Regions from separate parts of the Homo sapiens genome. Here region 2 is linked to region 1. The links are contacts of gene promoters, found by promoter capture Hi-C in human tissues and cell types (Jung and others, 2019). All regions are on one chromosome and are shown on one strand. Each heading gives the region's core, a stretch centred on a gene start or on the middle of the fragment in contact. The rest is flanking DNA. Distances are from core to core; before and after follow the strand shown.

Region 1 (7,476 bases), core at 2,460-4,959:
GGCCAGGCGTGGTGGCTCACGCCTGTAATCCCAGTACTTTGGGAGGCTGAGGTGGGTGGAAGCTTGGGGCCAGGAGTTTTGAGACCAGCCTGGGCAACATGGCAAAACCTCATCTCTATAAAAAATACAAAAATTAACTGGGCACAGTGGTGCGTATCTCAGCTACAAGGGACACAGGAGGCTGCAGTGAGCCTAGACTGTGCCAGTGCACACCAGCTTGGGCGACAGAACGAGATCCTGTCTCCAAAAGAAAAAAAAAATAACAAAGGCCATGTAGGAATATACATGTCGTAATTAGGGAGTGGTATTTGCCAGCAAGGTTGGCAGTGGTTCCCTTTTCCAGGAGCAATGAAGCTTCTCTTTCCTACTCTTAATTGAGGATCTCAGGGGCTCCCATCCCTTTCCACTTGGCTAAGAGTTATTCTCAGGCCTAGAGTTTTTTCTTGGCTACCCTCTTTACCATCCATGAACTGCTTTCTCCTTATCCTGTAGGGATTACCCCAAAGACCCTACAGTCCAGCCATTTGGGGTTACTTGTAGTTTTCTCCCATTCACATACTCATTCATGCAGTTCCCTCATCCAAGAATTATTTTTTTCTTCTTAGCAAAGTCATCCTGTAACTTAAATGCCAATCCTTGTAAGAAGCCCTTCCCAGAAGCCCTCCTCCCCTCCCACAGTACTTTATGTATCTATATAGAAACTTCTGCAGTTCAAATGGGCAAGTTACTTGCTTTATCAATAGAAAAATACAAATAATATTACAGGCTCGGTTCCCAGGAAGCACACTCTTACATGACTAGTGTGCAGGAGATTTATTAGGGAATGCTCTTGGGATCATTACTTGTGGGAGGGAAGAAAAGCTGAACTGGGCAGAAGTTGGACTTCAGTGAAGTCTCAATGGAATGCCTTAGCTGATCCTGCAAGTTGTTCTGCAGGAGGAGAAAATCCATCAGAATTGTACCAAATGGAGGTGAGAGGGCTGAGCCTTTTATCCCTGCATTGATCAGTCACTGGATGTGGCCTCTCTGAGAACATTATGACTCTGTGACACTGGCATGCCTGAAAGGGGCTGACAACCGATGGCTGGCTGTGGGTATGACTCTTGGCAGCAGCAGCTCAGTTCTTTATTCCTGAAGTGGGGTCTGAAAAGTGCATCTCAAGGCCTACCACAAATAGTATATATCTCATAGGATTGTCAGAAGCCTAAAATAGGGTAACATAGAAAAGTACACAGCATTTGGCCTGGCACATAGGAATCAAAAGCATGCTAAGTATGGTTATTATAATAGGATTTGGCTCTATAAGTAGAAAGAGCAAGGTAGGGAAACGTGTTTATTTTTGTATCTCTAGTCTTAGCATAGGGCACTAGTATGTTTTATCTTTCCTTTTTTATTTTTGAGACAGTCTTGCTCTGTCGCCCAGGCTGGAGTGCAGTGGCACGATCTCGGCTCACTGCAACCTCCACCTCCCGGGTTCAAGCAATTCTCCTGCCTCAGCCTCCCAAGTAGCTGGGATTACATGGGATAACAGGCGTGTGCCACCACACCTGGCTAATTTTTCTATTTTTAGTAGAGACGAAGTTTCGCCATGTTGGCCAGACTGGTCTTTAACTCCTGACACCTCAGGTGATCTGCCTGTCAAGGCCTCCCAAAGTGGTGGGATTACAGGCTTGAGACACCGCGCCCGGCCTCCCCCACCCCCGTTTTTTTTTGACATACTGCCACCCAGAAACACTAGTATGTTCAATAAATACTTGATGTGTTAAAAACATGTAACCCTTTTTCTTGAAGTAGATGTTACTTTGAGTTGAACTCAAAGCTAAAATACAAAACACCATTTAAAACATTTAATAACTTTTATTAGCAACATAAAAGAAGGCACAACACGTATCCACTTGCCCGAAAAAAAAAATAGTGTTGCAAAGGAAAACAAAAGTAATGAAACAGCACTGGACAATTGTCAAAGAAGAGCCCCAGTTAACGGCTTCTACCACTGGATTTTATATTTTTGGAACATAATCTTTATAGCCACGGAAGGAGGTTTAGCTGTTTTTCCACAGCTCATAAATGATGAAGTTATTTATCTTCATTAATGTGTGTTGGGCTTTATTTTCCTACATGCTCAATATAGTTGGTAGATCTGTTTTGATATTACTGAGCACTGCTTTGTGCCAGACACAATTCTGGGGATACAGCAATGAGCAAAACAGTTTACTAAGTCCCTGCTTTTAAAAATTTTACATTTCTGGTGGTGAGGATACTGACAAATAAGGTCTGGAAGTTGTAACTGTTATGAAGAAATAAAAGCAGGTGAAGAGTTAAAGCAATGGTGCAGGTGTACTTTTTTTGGATACAGTGGTCTGGGCAGCCCTCTGAGAAGGGACCTGAAATATGCATCGAACATCGAGGAGTTAAAAAAAATCTGGAGGAAATGTTCTGCCAGAGAAATCGGCAAGCACAAAGGCCCGAAGTGGTTCGAGCCTGCGTGCTGTGGTACAAGCCAGAGGTGAACGAGGCGAGGCAGAAGCACGATCATAAATACATGTATGGATGTTCTCCTGGCTTGAGACCACAGTGCTAAGGGAGGTGGGGTTTACAAATCTCTCAGGAGGCCACAAAGGGCAGGATGAAGCCGATTTCCAATGGCGGAGCTACGAGGACGCCTTTCCTCTGCTAGGGCCAGGTTGGACGGTTGCAAGGGATGGACTGCAACCCGCCCTCGGAAGACCAAACTTCGCCCAGGGGCAGGGACTGGCCGGGGAGGGCCTCGGCGGCGCCCGACCCGCGGGCGCTGCACGGGCCGCGGTTACCAGCAGGCGGTGTAGTGAGCGCGCCTGCAGCAGCAGCAACAGCAGCAGCAGCGGTCGCCGCCGCCGCCGCCGCCCGCCAGTCCCAACGAGGAGAAAGGAGGGGACCGGAAGGAGCCGCTGGTGCTGCGGGAAGTGGCAGGAGCGGGAGGCGGGGACCCACCTGGAAGCGCCGCGGCGCCGCTATCGAGCTTCCTGCAGCGGTGGCCACCCGAGCAAGTGCCGTGGCGGGGGCGGAGAGCGGCCACGGCGGCGGCGCCTCCCCAAGTGGCCCGTTGCGTCCGACCCCGCGTGAAAGGTGAGCAAGAGCTCGGGACACGTGGTGAGGGCCAGACACGGGGGAGGGAGAATGAAGGGGGAGGGAATGGGGGTGGGAAACGATCGGCTTGGGACCCGGATTTGGAGCCAAGTACCGGGAGGGGGTGGGCTGGAGGCGACGACTGCGACGGCTGCGACGGCTGCGACGGCGAAGCCCCCACGTGGGGCGGGGGTGCGCGCGCACGTGTGCGCGGGCGAAAGGGGGGGCGGGGAGGGCTTTTGGGAGGGCGTCGGGAGCGCGCTCGCTCAGTAGCGGCCCACGTGACGGGCACGCCGAAAATGTTTCCACGTGACAGGGAGGCTGCCTGGGGCAGCGCACTGCGCTCTGTTTATGTAGTATAATCGTGGTAATCGGAGGTTTTTAAGATTTCTGCTTTTCTGTACAAGGGGAAAGGAGGAGACGTATAAAGCGGAAAGACTTCCTACTGTCTCAGTGTTTTAAATGTTCACTACTCCGTTAGTGAAGTGCTTTTTAAGTTCCGAAATACTGATTTTTTTCTGTACCGCCATGTTGGGTCTAGTGGAAGCTCGCGAGATGCGAGTGGGTTTGTATCGCGAGATCTCTCGATTCTCGCGGGACCTCGTTGGCAGAGCAGTTGTCCTGGATGGCGGAGCCTTGGGTTCCGGGGGCCTGGGACCTGCAACTCTTTCTACAAGGCAAGTCGTTAGGGAGGGGCCCGGGGCGAGTGCCTCTTGGTGCCGGGATACGTGCTGCATCAGCTTCCCATAGTCTTGAAGGGAATACAGTAACCCCATTGAGGCAACACTGCCCTCCCCATCCCCCTGCGGGCGCTCCACCACCTGCAAAAGCATATGCACCCCTCAGCCAGGTCCTTCTCCCCACGCAGTGATAGTTCCACCCTGTCCCACTCACTGGAAGTCCGGGAGCCGTGCTCGCGCAGACCTGATGATTCCATTGGATACCGTTCCTCTTACTTTAAGATGTTCTTGTCAGTTTTTCCCTTCTTGCCATTTTCTAAAGTATTCCAGACCGGTTAACTATTGTGTCGCGTTTTCTGCTGCAGTACCTGACTCCAGTCTCCTGAAACAGAACTCCTCCCATCTATTTTCTCTGGGTGTCATTTACTCATCACCCTGACTTCGTATTTTCAGTAACTTTTGGCAGTATTTGGAGGGCCCATTATGTCTCTGACAACACCTGTGGTCAGAATAAAATCCTGCTTTTCATCATTTTGTACGTGCCTATTAACTCAGTTATCGGTAGGGTTTTAATTACTACTGTGTTACTGAGGTTGCCATCTTTGAAGTTTAGGGATGGTTGTTTTAGGTTATATATTTAAGGTAACAGACTGTTTCATGTGATTTTTTTTTTTTTTTTTTTGAGACGGAGTCTCGCTCTTGTCGCCTAGGCTGGAGTGTAGTGGGGCGATCTCGGCTCATTGCAACCTCCGCCTCCCGGGTTCAAGCGATTCTCCTGCCTCAGCCTCTCGAGTATCGAGTAGCTGGGATTACAGTCGCGCTTCACCACGCCCGGCTAATTTTTGTGTTTTTAGTAGAGACGGGGTTTCACCATGTTGGCCAGGCTGGTCTCAAACTCCTGACCTCAAGTGATCCACCTGCCTTGGCCTCTCAAAGTGCTGGGATTTCAGCACTGTACAGGCGTGAGCCACCGCGCCCGGCCTCAGGTCAACTTTTTAGTAAAGAGCAAACTCATAAATTTTGGCATCAGAGTTTGAGCTTTATTTTTCTTAAATGAGTTTGAAATCAATTTAATATTTCTCTCCAATTCCCTAATGTCTCAGAAGTGAATTTACAGTATACCTTTGTTTTTTCGTATTCTTAAGTAGTATTTGGATTTTATTTAGTAGTTGCAGTACTAAATAAGGAGTGGGGAGTTAATTACAAAACGAATCAGGTGACTAGTTAATTTATTCATAGTTTGTTTTTTAAAACTACAAAAGTGTTTTTTTTTCCTATACATAATACAGAGAGGTATATAGTATAGAGTAACACAGTGCTTGTTTCACGGTACCACAAAGTTCCATTCCTCAGTCTTAAATCTCTGTAACCAGCCTTTGTGGTTGCTGTGTATCATTCCAGATATTTCCATATTTTGGTTTAGTTTTTGTTTCTTAAATGAAGGGGAGAAAGTGTTGTTTTAATGGGGTACCAACACAATATTGGCAATCAGTAAACATTTTTTAACTAAATTAAATTTTTATTTAGTGATATATGCCTGTTTGTCAAGACTTACGTATGCATACTTACGCAGATTTTTTTTGTTTGTACTGATTTTTTTGGTAGTATAATCTTGTGAAAATATCACAAGTAACTTATTTTTGCAGTAAAGTTGATTTATTGTGCTTGGTAGCTTTGCACAGAAAGAAAGTACATGTAAAACAAGATTTAAATAAATTAATGTTTTATCACTTGAGTTTTATATTTTTATCTTTAATGTGTGTTATGTATTTAACTTTATATATTATATATTCTAAACTGTAACCTAACTATATAGGAGTTTTTCAGACGTTTTAAAAGTTTATCACTGTGATTAAAATGATAGTTTGACCATGCAACTTAGTGATCTCAATTGGAGAGTGGTAGACATTAGTAGTTAGTACAAACAAAGGTATATATACTTGAAGTTGCTAAGCGGCTATCATTTTGTAAGTGTTGTTTTTGTAATTTCCCCCCGCCAAACCTACCAGTAATAATATTTATCAGACCAGTCACATAAGAGAATTGTCCACTCTTTGGGCAATGTGGTTTTTTGTTGTAACAGTGCAAGTAGAAATGTTGAGGAATAGAAGTGAGTGTTGAGAGGTATGATGTTGGAAAGAGGAAAAGGGGACATTGGGAGTGTAGAGGTTGATACTGAAATGGAATTGGACAAGTTGGGGAGAAAAGAGGAATGTAGAAGGTTGACAGTGAGGCAAGAGCCATGGTGCAAGAATAGTCAGGCTCATAATAGTTGGAGGACAGCCCGAGTCGGTATTTGAGGCAACTTTCTCCTCCTATTCTTTTTTAGATAGTTCTGGGTCTATTCACAGAATTGCTAGATATTTCCTGTCATAAAAGTCAGCAGCTTAAGGTTATACTTAATTGAAACCTTGTGAATTCTTTACTTTAGATAAAGCTATTCTGTTAAATAACATTTGTTAAGTACGTTTTATTATTATTTTTAGAAGTGGGAAATTGTGAAAATGACAATGAGTTTGAAGGTCACAGTTCTACAATGGCCTTTGCAAAGGTATCTACATAAGTTTAGCTTGGTAACTGGGCCTTTAATAGTCCACGTGCATCTGATCTATGAAATAATATATGTTCCTTGTTCTTAGAACTTTTGTTTTATAAACTTTTCAGTATTGGGTCTTGGGAAATACCAGTCTTTTACAGACACGAAATTATTTGAGGTACTTGGTAGAAATATACTGAGAAAAATCCAAGGAAGAGGAAAAATGTATTTTTACATGGTTTGTGTTTGGTTGAGTAAAATTTAAATAACCAAGAAATTTAATTTTCACTTTTCTCAATTATTACGGTCATATAAATGATGAGAGCTAATGAACTTCAGTGATCAGAGGAAACTATTAACAGTGATAATATAATAATACTGATTTATTCTCACTTGAGTTTTTTCCTTAAGGTCTGACACCATGCCAATTTCCACAGACCTGTAACTTTAAGTTACCTTAAGCTGGGCCTGGTGGCTCACGCCTGTAATACAAGCACTTTGGGAGGCCGAGGTGGGAGGATTGCTTGAGACCAGCAACAACATAGTCAGACCACGTTTCTACCAAAAAAGAAAAAAAATTAGCCTGGTAGTGCACGCCTGTAGTACCAGCTACTTGGGAGGCTGAGAAGGGAGGATTGCTTGAACCCAGAAGGTTGAGACTGCAGTGAGCTGTGATTGCACCATTGCACTCCAGCCTGGGCAACAGAGTGAGTGAGACCCTGTGTCAAAAATAAAATAAAAACACCTAAATTTCATATGAAAATTCAGTTTGGAGTCACCTACAAGAAATAGTTGCTAGAAGAGTTTCATTTTTATAGTAGTATTTACTAGAGATTTGGTATATACTCTGGTGCAAATTTCTGTAGTTAATGCTCTGATAACCACTATAATTGTACTCTGAAAACCACTCTCAGTAAATATTTCCCAAAGTCCAAAGTCTTGATTATTTTGTTTGACCCTTTCGTTCTCACCTTTCTGTTTTTCTTTTCAGCTGATTTTTCTCATTTATGTAGGTAATTTTTGTCTTATTAGAGAGGAGTGAGTTGACTAACTTGCCTTGAGGAGAATATCACTTTGTGATTAATCAAACTATTCAGATATTATTATTACTGTTGTTTTGGAACTTCAGTATATTTGTAAGTTAGAGGCAGTAAT
Region 2 (7,476 bases), core at 3,069-5,568, 1.4 Mb after region 1:
CAGCCTGGATGGCAACTGGTCCACAAAAACATGAGCAAGAATAAACAATTGTTTAAGCCACTGAGTTTGGGTGATTTCTTACACAGCATTATTATGCAAATAGTTTTCTGACACACCCAAGATTTCCCATCTACTTAATAAAATGATGCTGAAATTCATACAGAGGTGAATTTATTAAAGATTTCTGAAAAAAGATGAGCAAAAAGAAGTAGGTCTAATACTACAAGCAACAATTATATAAAAATAGCATTTACCAAAAAAATGTTGATCAATGAAACAAAATAAAGAGCACAAAAAGACCAAATATATATATATATATTTGTGTGTATGTATACCAATGGTAGCAATAATATAATAATAATAGTAATAATAATTGTAAAAATAATTATTTGTGACAAGTACTAGATTGTCAGAGCTCACAGGACAATATTTTCAGCATGTCTACCATTCCGGGGGCATGCTGGAAATATTGTCCTGTGAGCTCTGGGAAAGATACCTGAAAGATAGCTAACTTTCTTCAATCCAATAAATATCATTAAACACTATTGGAAATAAATAGTTATTGGCAAAATACAACACCATACCAAGCCACCAAAAAGTTATTTACTTTCTACCTTTTCTTCCTAAGAATATCACAAATAATTTACCTTGCAAAAAACTTGGGCTGCATTGCAATAGAAAAAACTGTTATAGTGTGTAAGTATAGATGAAAGAGATTAGAAAGCCACACTGACTTGCACAGCTGTTCCTGGGGAATCTTTGAAGAACTTGTACTTCTTAAAGAGGACAGGAATTATTTCTAGAATACTCACTATTTCTCTGCCAAAATATTTATTGTATTAAATACAGAATATTAAAACAGTGATGTATTCACAATGCATGTATCTTATACATCCCTGCCCTATGGGGCTAGACTAGTATATTTCAAATTTTTTCAATTCACCTTCTCCTATGGTCTTCTCCATCTCAGTCAATGACAATTCCAACCTTCCAGATGCACAGGTCAAAAACCTAAATACCTTTTTTAAAAGCAAACCTTCCTGTATCCAAGTGTTCTCATTGTTCAATTCCCACCTATGAGTGAGTACATGCAGTGTTTGGCACATGTATACATATGTAACAAACCTGCACGTTGTGCACATGTACCCTAGAACTTAAAGTATAATAAAAATATATATATGTGAAAAATTAAAAAAATGAAAGTGCAATAATTAATAAAAAAAGCAAACCTTATATTTTGGAATAGTTTCAGATTTATTTAAAAATTGAGAAGATAGTTACCATATAGCCCACACTCAGTTTCTCCATTATCAACATCTCGTATAGTATAATACATTTGTTACAATTAATTATTATTAACTCAAGTCCATACTTTACTCATACTTAGTTTTGATCTAATGTCTTTTTTTCTGTTCAGGAGCCCATCCAGGATACCACATTGCATTTAGTTGTCATGTTTCCTTAGGACACTCTTGGCTGTGGGGGTTTCTCAGACTTTCCTCGTTTTTGATAACCTGAACAGTTTAGAGGAGTTGTCATCACGTGTTCTGTAGAACGGCCCCCAATATTTATTTGTCTGATATTTATCTCATGATTAAACAGGCTTATGGGATTTGGGGAAGATGGCCTCAGTGGTAAAGTGTCGGTTTCATCACATCATACCAAGGGTATATACTACCAACACCATTTGTCACTATTGATGTTAACCTTGATCACTTAGCTGAGATAGTGTTTGTCAGCCTTTCCACCACAGTTACTATTTATTCTCCTTTCCATATTGTAGTCCTATTAAGGGAGTCACTAGGAGAAACCCACATTTAAGGAATGGGAGAATATTCACTTTTTAAAGTATTCCAAACAATATATTTATCTAGACATTTTAAATCCTATTCTTTAAATGATAGTGAAAGTTCTAGAGTGTTTCACAGATATACATTGCTTAAAAAATACTTCTTCAACCGGGCATGGTGGCTCACACCTGTAATCCCAGCACTCTGGGAGGCCAAGGCGGGCGGATCAGGCTCAGGAGTTCGAGACCACCTTGGGCAACATGGTGAAACCATGTCTTTACTAAAACACAAAAATTAAGCCGGGCATGGTGGTGCACACCTGTTGTCCCAACTACTTGGGAGGCTGAGGCACGAGAATCACTTGAGCCTGGGAGGTAGAGGTCGTAGTCAGCCAAGGTCACACCACTGCACTCCAGCTTGGGCTATAGAATGAGACTCCATCTCAAAAAAAAAAAATTCTAGTAATAAATACAATATGTGCTCATTGTAGAAAATTTGGAAAACATGTTTTTTAAAAAAATTCTAAAATTTACAACCCAGATATAGACCATCACAGTTAATATTTTGAAGTATTATCTCCAAACTTTCTTTCTATGACTACATTTAAAGAGTTAAAATAATCTTTCACATGTTATTCTACCTTCTTTATTAGCCTTTAACATTATGAAAAAATTTTATTTATCCCTAGGCAAAAAGTGTTTTCTTTTTTACAATTTCAGAGCCTAGCACAGTGCGTTGCATGTAGTAAATTCAACAAATGGGATTCCATGAACTTACTGACTTCATGAATTGGCAGACACTCTGTGAAACCATTTAAAGGAATTTGTTGACTAGGATAGTCTTAGGTTCTTGTTTTGCCACACAGGACAATGAAAGACACTAGCATAGAATCAATACTTTGGGGGCCTTGAAAAATTAGTTAAATCAGTAAAATAGTATGTACTCTGTAAGAGCTAAAAGAAAATGGCACATAAAATACTTAACACAGTGACTGTCATTTAACCTAACCACTGAGGTATTACAATTTTATTTATTTATTTCTAGTCATTATATTCAATTATTTTTCAGAGATATTTTATTTTTGCTAGAACTTTGCTTCCCATGTATTTTATTCATTCTTAATCATTTTTATAGTCTGTGTTTGACACAGGCCTGCAATCCCTTATCTAAAATCATTTGAACCAGGTATACTTTGGGATTCATAAATGTTCATATTTGAAGAAGACAACAGAGCAAATACTCAAATACACATATTATGAAACACCACAGCAGGGTATTTCTAGAGGTAATTTTTGTATTTTTACAAAATACAAAATTTTTGGGCATGGTGGCAGGTGCCTGTAATCCCAGCTACTCGGGAGGCTGAGGCAGGAGAATCGCTTGAGCCGAGGAGGTGGAGGTTGCAGTGAGCCGAGATCGTGCCACTGAACTCCAGCCTAAGTGACAGAGCGAGACTCCATGTCAATAAATGAATAAATAAAGAATCCATTTATTAAATACTTGGCAAATGCCTATTAGTCAGATGACTCGGTTAACCAGACATACTATTTCCCAAACTTGTGGGGGGGTGGGGGGCAGTGGTGGATAACATTTGATATAAAAGCATATAGTTATTTTTGAAATGAAATATTCTGTAATGGCTATCTTTCTTTTGTGAATAAGGCTTTGTAAGGCTACTCTGAAAAATAAGAACTCACAATTTGATGCCATCTACTTAGTGACAAATTACCTTTTAGACATTAAATATAAGTGTTTAATTGAAATTACTTGAATGTTCACTATTCTTAAGAACAGTGAAATGAATTTCTTGTGTAAGATGGTTACTCAGCCATCATCATTACAGGCTGCAATGCAAACACCTTCTAGGTGGTATTGTTCCAGGATACTCCTAACTTGGGTCCATGTTGTTCTCTTCTTTGGTGAACCCCAATTTTAACACTTCTTTAAATTACAGTTCATTGCTGATCCTTAGCACAATGTCTGGAACAGAATAAGCACTTTTCAAAATATTTGGTATTTGGTTAATACCAATTGCCATTTGATGAAAGCTTTTCGCACTAGTCACTCTGCCAGGCCATCAGCTTGAGAAGAGCTATAGAAAAACTCTCTACATCAGGACATGAGTTCTATCATCTTTTTCAACCCTCAAATCAAGGTATTTGTGATAGATACACTGTTTTGTTTTCCTTTGCTTGTCACAAATGAGGTAATTTGATAGTTGAATTTCTAATAGGCCCCTTTCAAGTGCGTTAACAAGATAGTTGGCAAATGGGGACTTTTCTACCTAAGGCTCTGTAATAAATAAAACTGCGGTATATCTTCCTGAGGAACCGATCACTACATTAAAACCTATGATAATAATGGATTTTTCATCAATAAAAAATGTGATTTGTAAAGTGAAAATCAATCTAGTTTGACTGCTGATGCCTCACAGCAATAGAGAAATTTTCATCTAACAATTATAATGAAACTATATGATTTATCAGTTGAGTACGACTAGCAATTCAGGTAGTAGTCAGTCTTGTCCAGCCATTTTCTGGCATTATAACCTTGGGAAATTGACCTTCATTTTTCTACCACAAAAGGATAAGCTAGTTTACTAAGCAATATGCACCTAAGCAGAAAGATAGACAGCGTTCACCCCTTGCAGACACCTGCACTGACTGATGGATGTGACTTGTGTTTGGCCCCCCAGCAGGTTTGAGAGTGCAGATTTGGAAAGACTACTCCTCTCCTCCTTCAGATGGCACCTTGTTTAAAGATGAGTTACTGAACATTTGGTGGTGGTGGCTGTAAAATAACTACAATATATCAGCTAGGACTTTTTTGGTTGCAAGGGACAAAAACAGTTCAAACCAGCAAAAGTAAAAAGAAGACAAATATATTGGCTTATACACCCAAACCATGGGGGATGGGAGGGGAGGCTGCCTTCAAGAATTGAGCTCAGGACCTGAAGTGTTGTCTGGGTCTTCACATTAGCCTTGCAACTTGTTTCTGCTTCTCTCAGTGTCTTTGTCTCATTCTGTCTTGGGAACACAGCTACTGACATCCAGAGAATCACATCCCAACAGCTTTACCACCAGAGAAAAGGGGGCCTTTCCTGCCAGTGTGTCCCAGAAAAACATAATAAAATTTGAGAAGGCTTCAGAATGGCTCATCTTGGGCCATGAGCCCACCCCTCAACCAATCACTTGATTGACCAATCACTAGCCTGACTTTTCTGCTCACCCTTGTGGTCAAAAGGAAGGGCCACCTTCTCTAATAAAGGGAAGGTGGAGAGTAGACAACCGCAAAAGGCACACTATACACCTACCTGACTATATATATATATATATAATGTGTGTGTGTGTGTGTGTGTATATATATACCATTTTACACCATTTACACACCATTTTACATACCATTTTAATGTATAACATAGTATGTTGTATATATTCTATGTATGTTTGTATTTAAGTGGCTAGAACTTGATCTGTGAACATGTATGCATGTATATGCTGCATGCATGCATACATGTATGTATTTTCCATATACTTGTATATACTGATTCATAACTATGAATGTATATATATATTACATGTATGTATTACTCCTATGTCTAAATAGGAGTGTGGTCTTTCCATAATCCCACTCACATTCCCAGATCATAATTACCCAATGAATGCATTTTCTATCTTCTTCTATATTCCAGAGTAAGTTCCAGCCAGGTTGACCTATGTATTACCTGTACATGTGCCTGACTTCCTTCTCTGGAAGTCAGAGGATTGCAGAGGCCTGGGCAGTACTTCAGGGGCCCCTTGGAAATGGGGAGTTGTGTCCATGTCAGGGGTACACAGAGAGAAGCATTATTAGAAGTGACCCCCTACATAGTATGCAGGGCAGTAGGGCCAAGGTAAGAGCACTACAAGACTAGATAACCAGCCAAACAAAAAGAAGAGCCACACGATTAGGACTAAAGGTATTGAATCCAGAGAAAGGTATGAAATGGATCCACCAAGTGTGAGGCAATGACGATTACCAGCATAGACATTAGGGCTTTACTGTAGCTTTCCATATAGTGTCCTTGGCCTACTGGGAGTCATAGGGGCTGAAGGAAAATGCACAATACATATTCTGAACCTTTGCTTTTTTACCCAACTCTGCTTTGTCTTCTTCCTCTGTCCCATCCAAATCTTTCTCCAAAGCACATGTCTCACCTCTCCCACAAAAGCTTCCTGGAAATATTCTAACCCACAGTGGCATCTGTCCTTCTCATCTGGCACTCATAGATTGTCTGGAGATATGGTCATTGATTGAAAGTTGCTATTTCACAACCAGACTGAGAAACATAGTCATCTCTTCTCCACTCAAAAAATATATCCTTTCATACTTGAGAAAAATGATAAATTATCCTTAAAATGACAAATCCAATACACACATGTCAAATTCATTTGGGAGTAAGAGCATGGTACAGACATGCTGGTAGGGGTGGGGCTGTCAGAACAAAGGATGAAATCAATGAGGAGGGTGGTAAAAAGTCACAAAGTTTTGATTTATTATATGTTAATTTAGCTGTTTCCTTTTCTATAACATTTAATACTCAAATTTCATTTTGCTTTATGATTACATAAATGGGAATGTTCGGATTTTAATTAACAATTAAATGGATCAGTTTTAAACTTTTGGGACATACATTTGCACATAATTGCTCTCAATATACTTACGTAAAACCCAAAGCCTCTATTACCAAATATAGAAAACCTATTCATGTCAGCTTTAGTTACATGTGTACATTTATTTAAATGTGTGGAGTGTGTGCTTTTATCACCAAGAAAGTCAGCTCTCTTCCTTAATTGTTACTATAACCATAATTTGGGAAATTCTATTGCAACATCAATATGTTATGCACATCTTTAATTAGGCTAGTGTGGCCTGTCTGTCACAGCAACTGATCCTAAATATTCCTATTTAGTCTACTTGAGGTTTTAAAACGTTCTCATTTTTTAAAGAGGCATACTTCAGCCTCATTAAATTGTCGAGTAAGTCAGTATGCAGCCCTGCACTTGCTTCCTGTGTTCTGGCAATCTTGCACCTCTCCACTTGGCACATTTCAGGCACCCAGGGAAAGGGCACTCTTCCCCAAATACCAGAAATCCTCTGTAGCCCCAGCATCTTAAGGGGAAGATCCTATCAGGTCTAAGGAAGACATCTGTCACCCTCACTGATTACCAATAAGATCTGGCCTTGGCATCCTATTGATCACCCAAGCTGGATCCTTTCATCTAGCAGTAAATGCAAATAAACTGCAGGCTGCTTGCTCTGAGCAATGTCTTCACACCAGGTCACACAACAAAAAAGACAACACAATGACTGAGTCCCTCATAGGCAACTACAAATAGAACCTAGCTTGAAGTTCGTTTTCTCCTTTTTCCCAAAAATCTGCCATGATCTCAACAGGAGAAAGCAAGATTACCTTGAACCAAGCCCTGGACTACCTTAGTCCTTTATACCTCCTCTGTCTGCTATAATTAATAATTTAAAATAAATAGCATTTGTTTCAAGGGGAAAATAGGGTTTTAGGATATTGTGAAGCACGTTTCTGTTTTTAATTTTTTTCTGGAAAAATACATGGGTGACATATACTTTTTACCATATCCAAAGCCAGTTGATAATACAGTAATTCTGCCATAATGCTATAGGTGGAATC

What was found. Contacts are between HindIII fragments. The study calls those that stand out against the background at their distance.
Region 2: a fragment that was not itself captured here is called in contact with the fragment with the promoter of ZZZ3 in region 1 in 1 of the 25 tissues and cell types used here (dorsolateral prefrontal cortex).

The regions. Positions count from the first base shown.
Region 1 is chr1:77,678,891-77,686,366 of GRCh38, reverse strand. It overlaps ZZZ3 (zinc finger ZZ-type containing 3), which reads left to right and starts at 3,709. Exons shown (of 15, transcript NM_015534.6): 1 at 3,709-3,782. RefSeq lists enhancers at 2,454-2,553, 1,983-2,756, 3,574-3,653 and silencers at 2,704-2,763, 2,774-3,193. The HindIII fragment of the contact is 15,193 bases long and covers 1-7,476 here.
Region 2 is chr1:76,318,636-76,326,111 of GRCh38, reverse strand. The region is part of intron 2 of ST6GALNAC3 (ST6 N-acetylgalactosaminide alpha-2,6-sialyltransferase 3); the gene reads right to left. Among named protein-coding and RNA genes, the nearest start is that of ST6GALNAC3, 250 kb to the right of the region's middle. The HindIII fragment of the contact is 4,951 bases long and covers 1,843-6,793 here.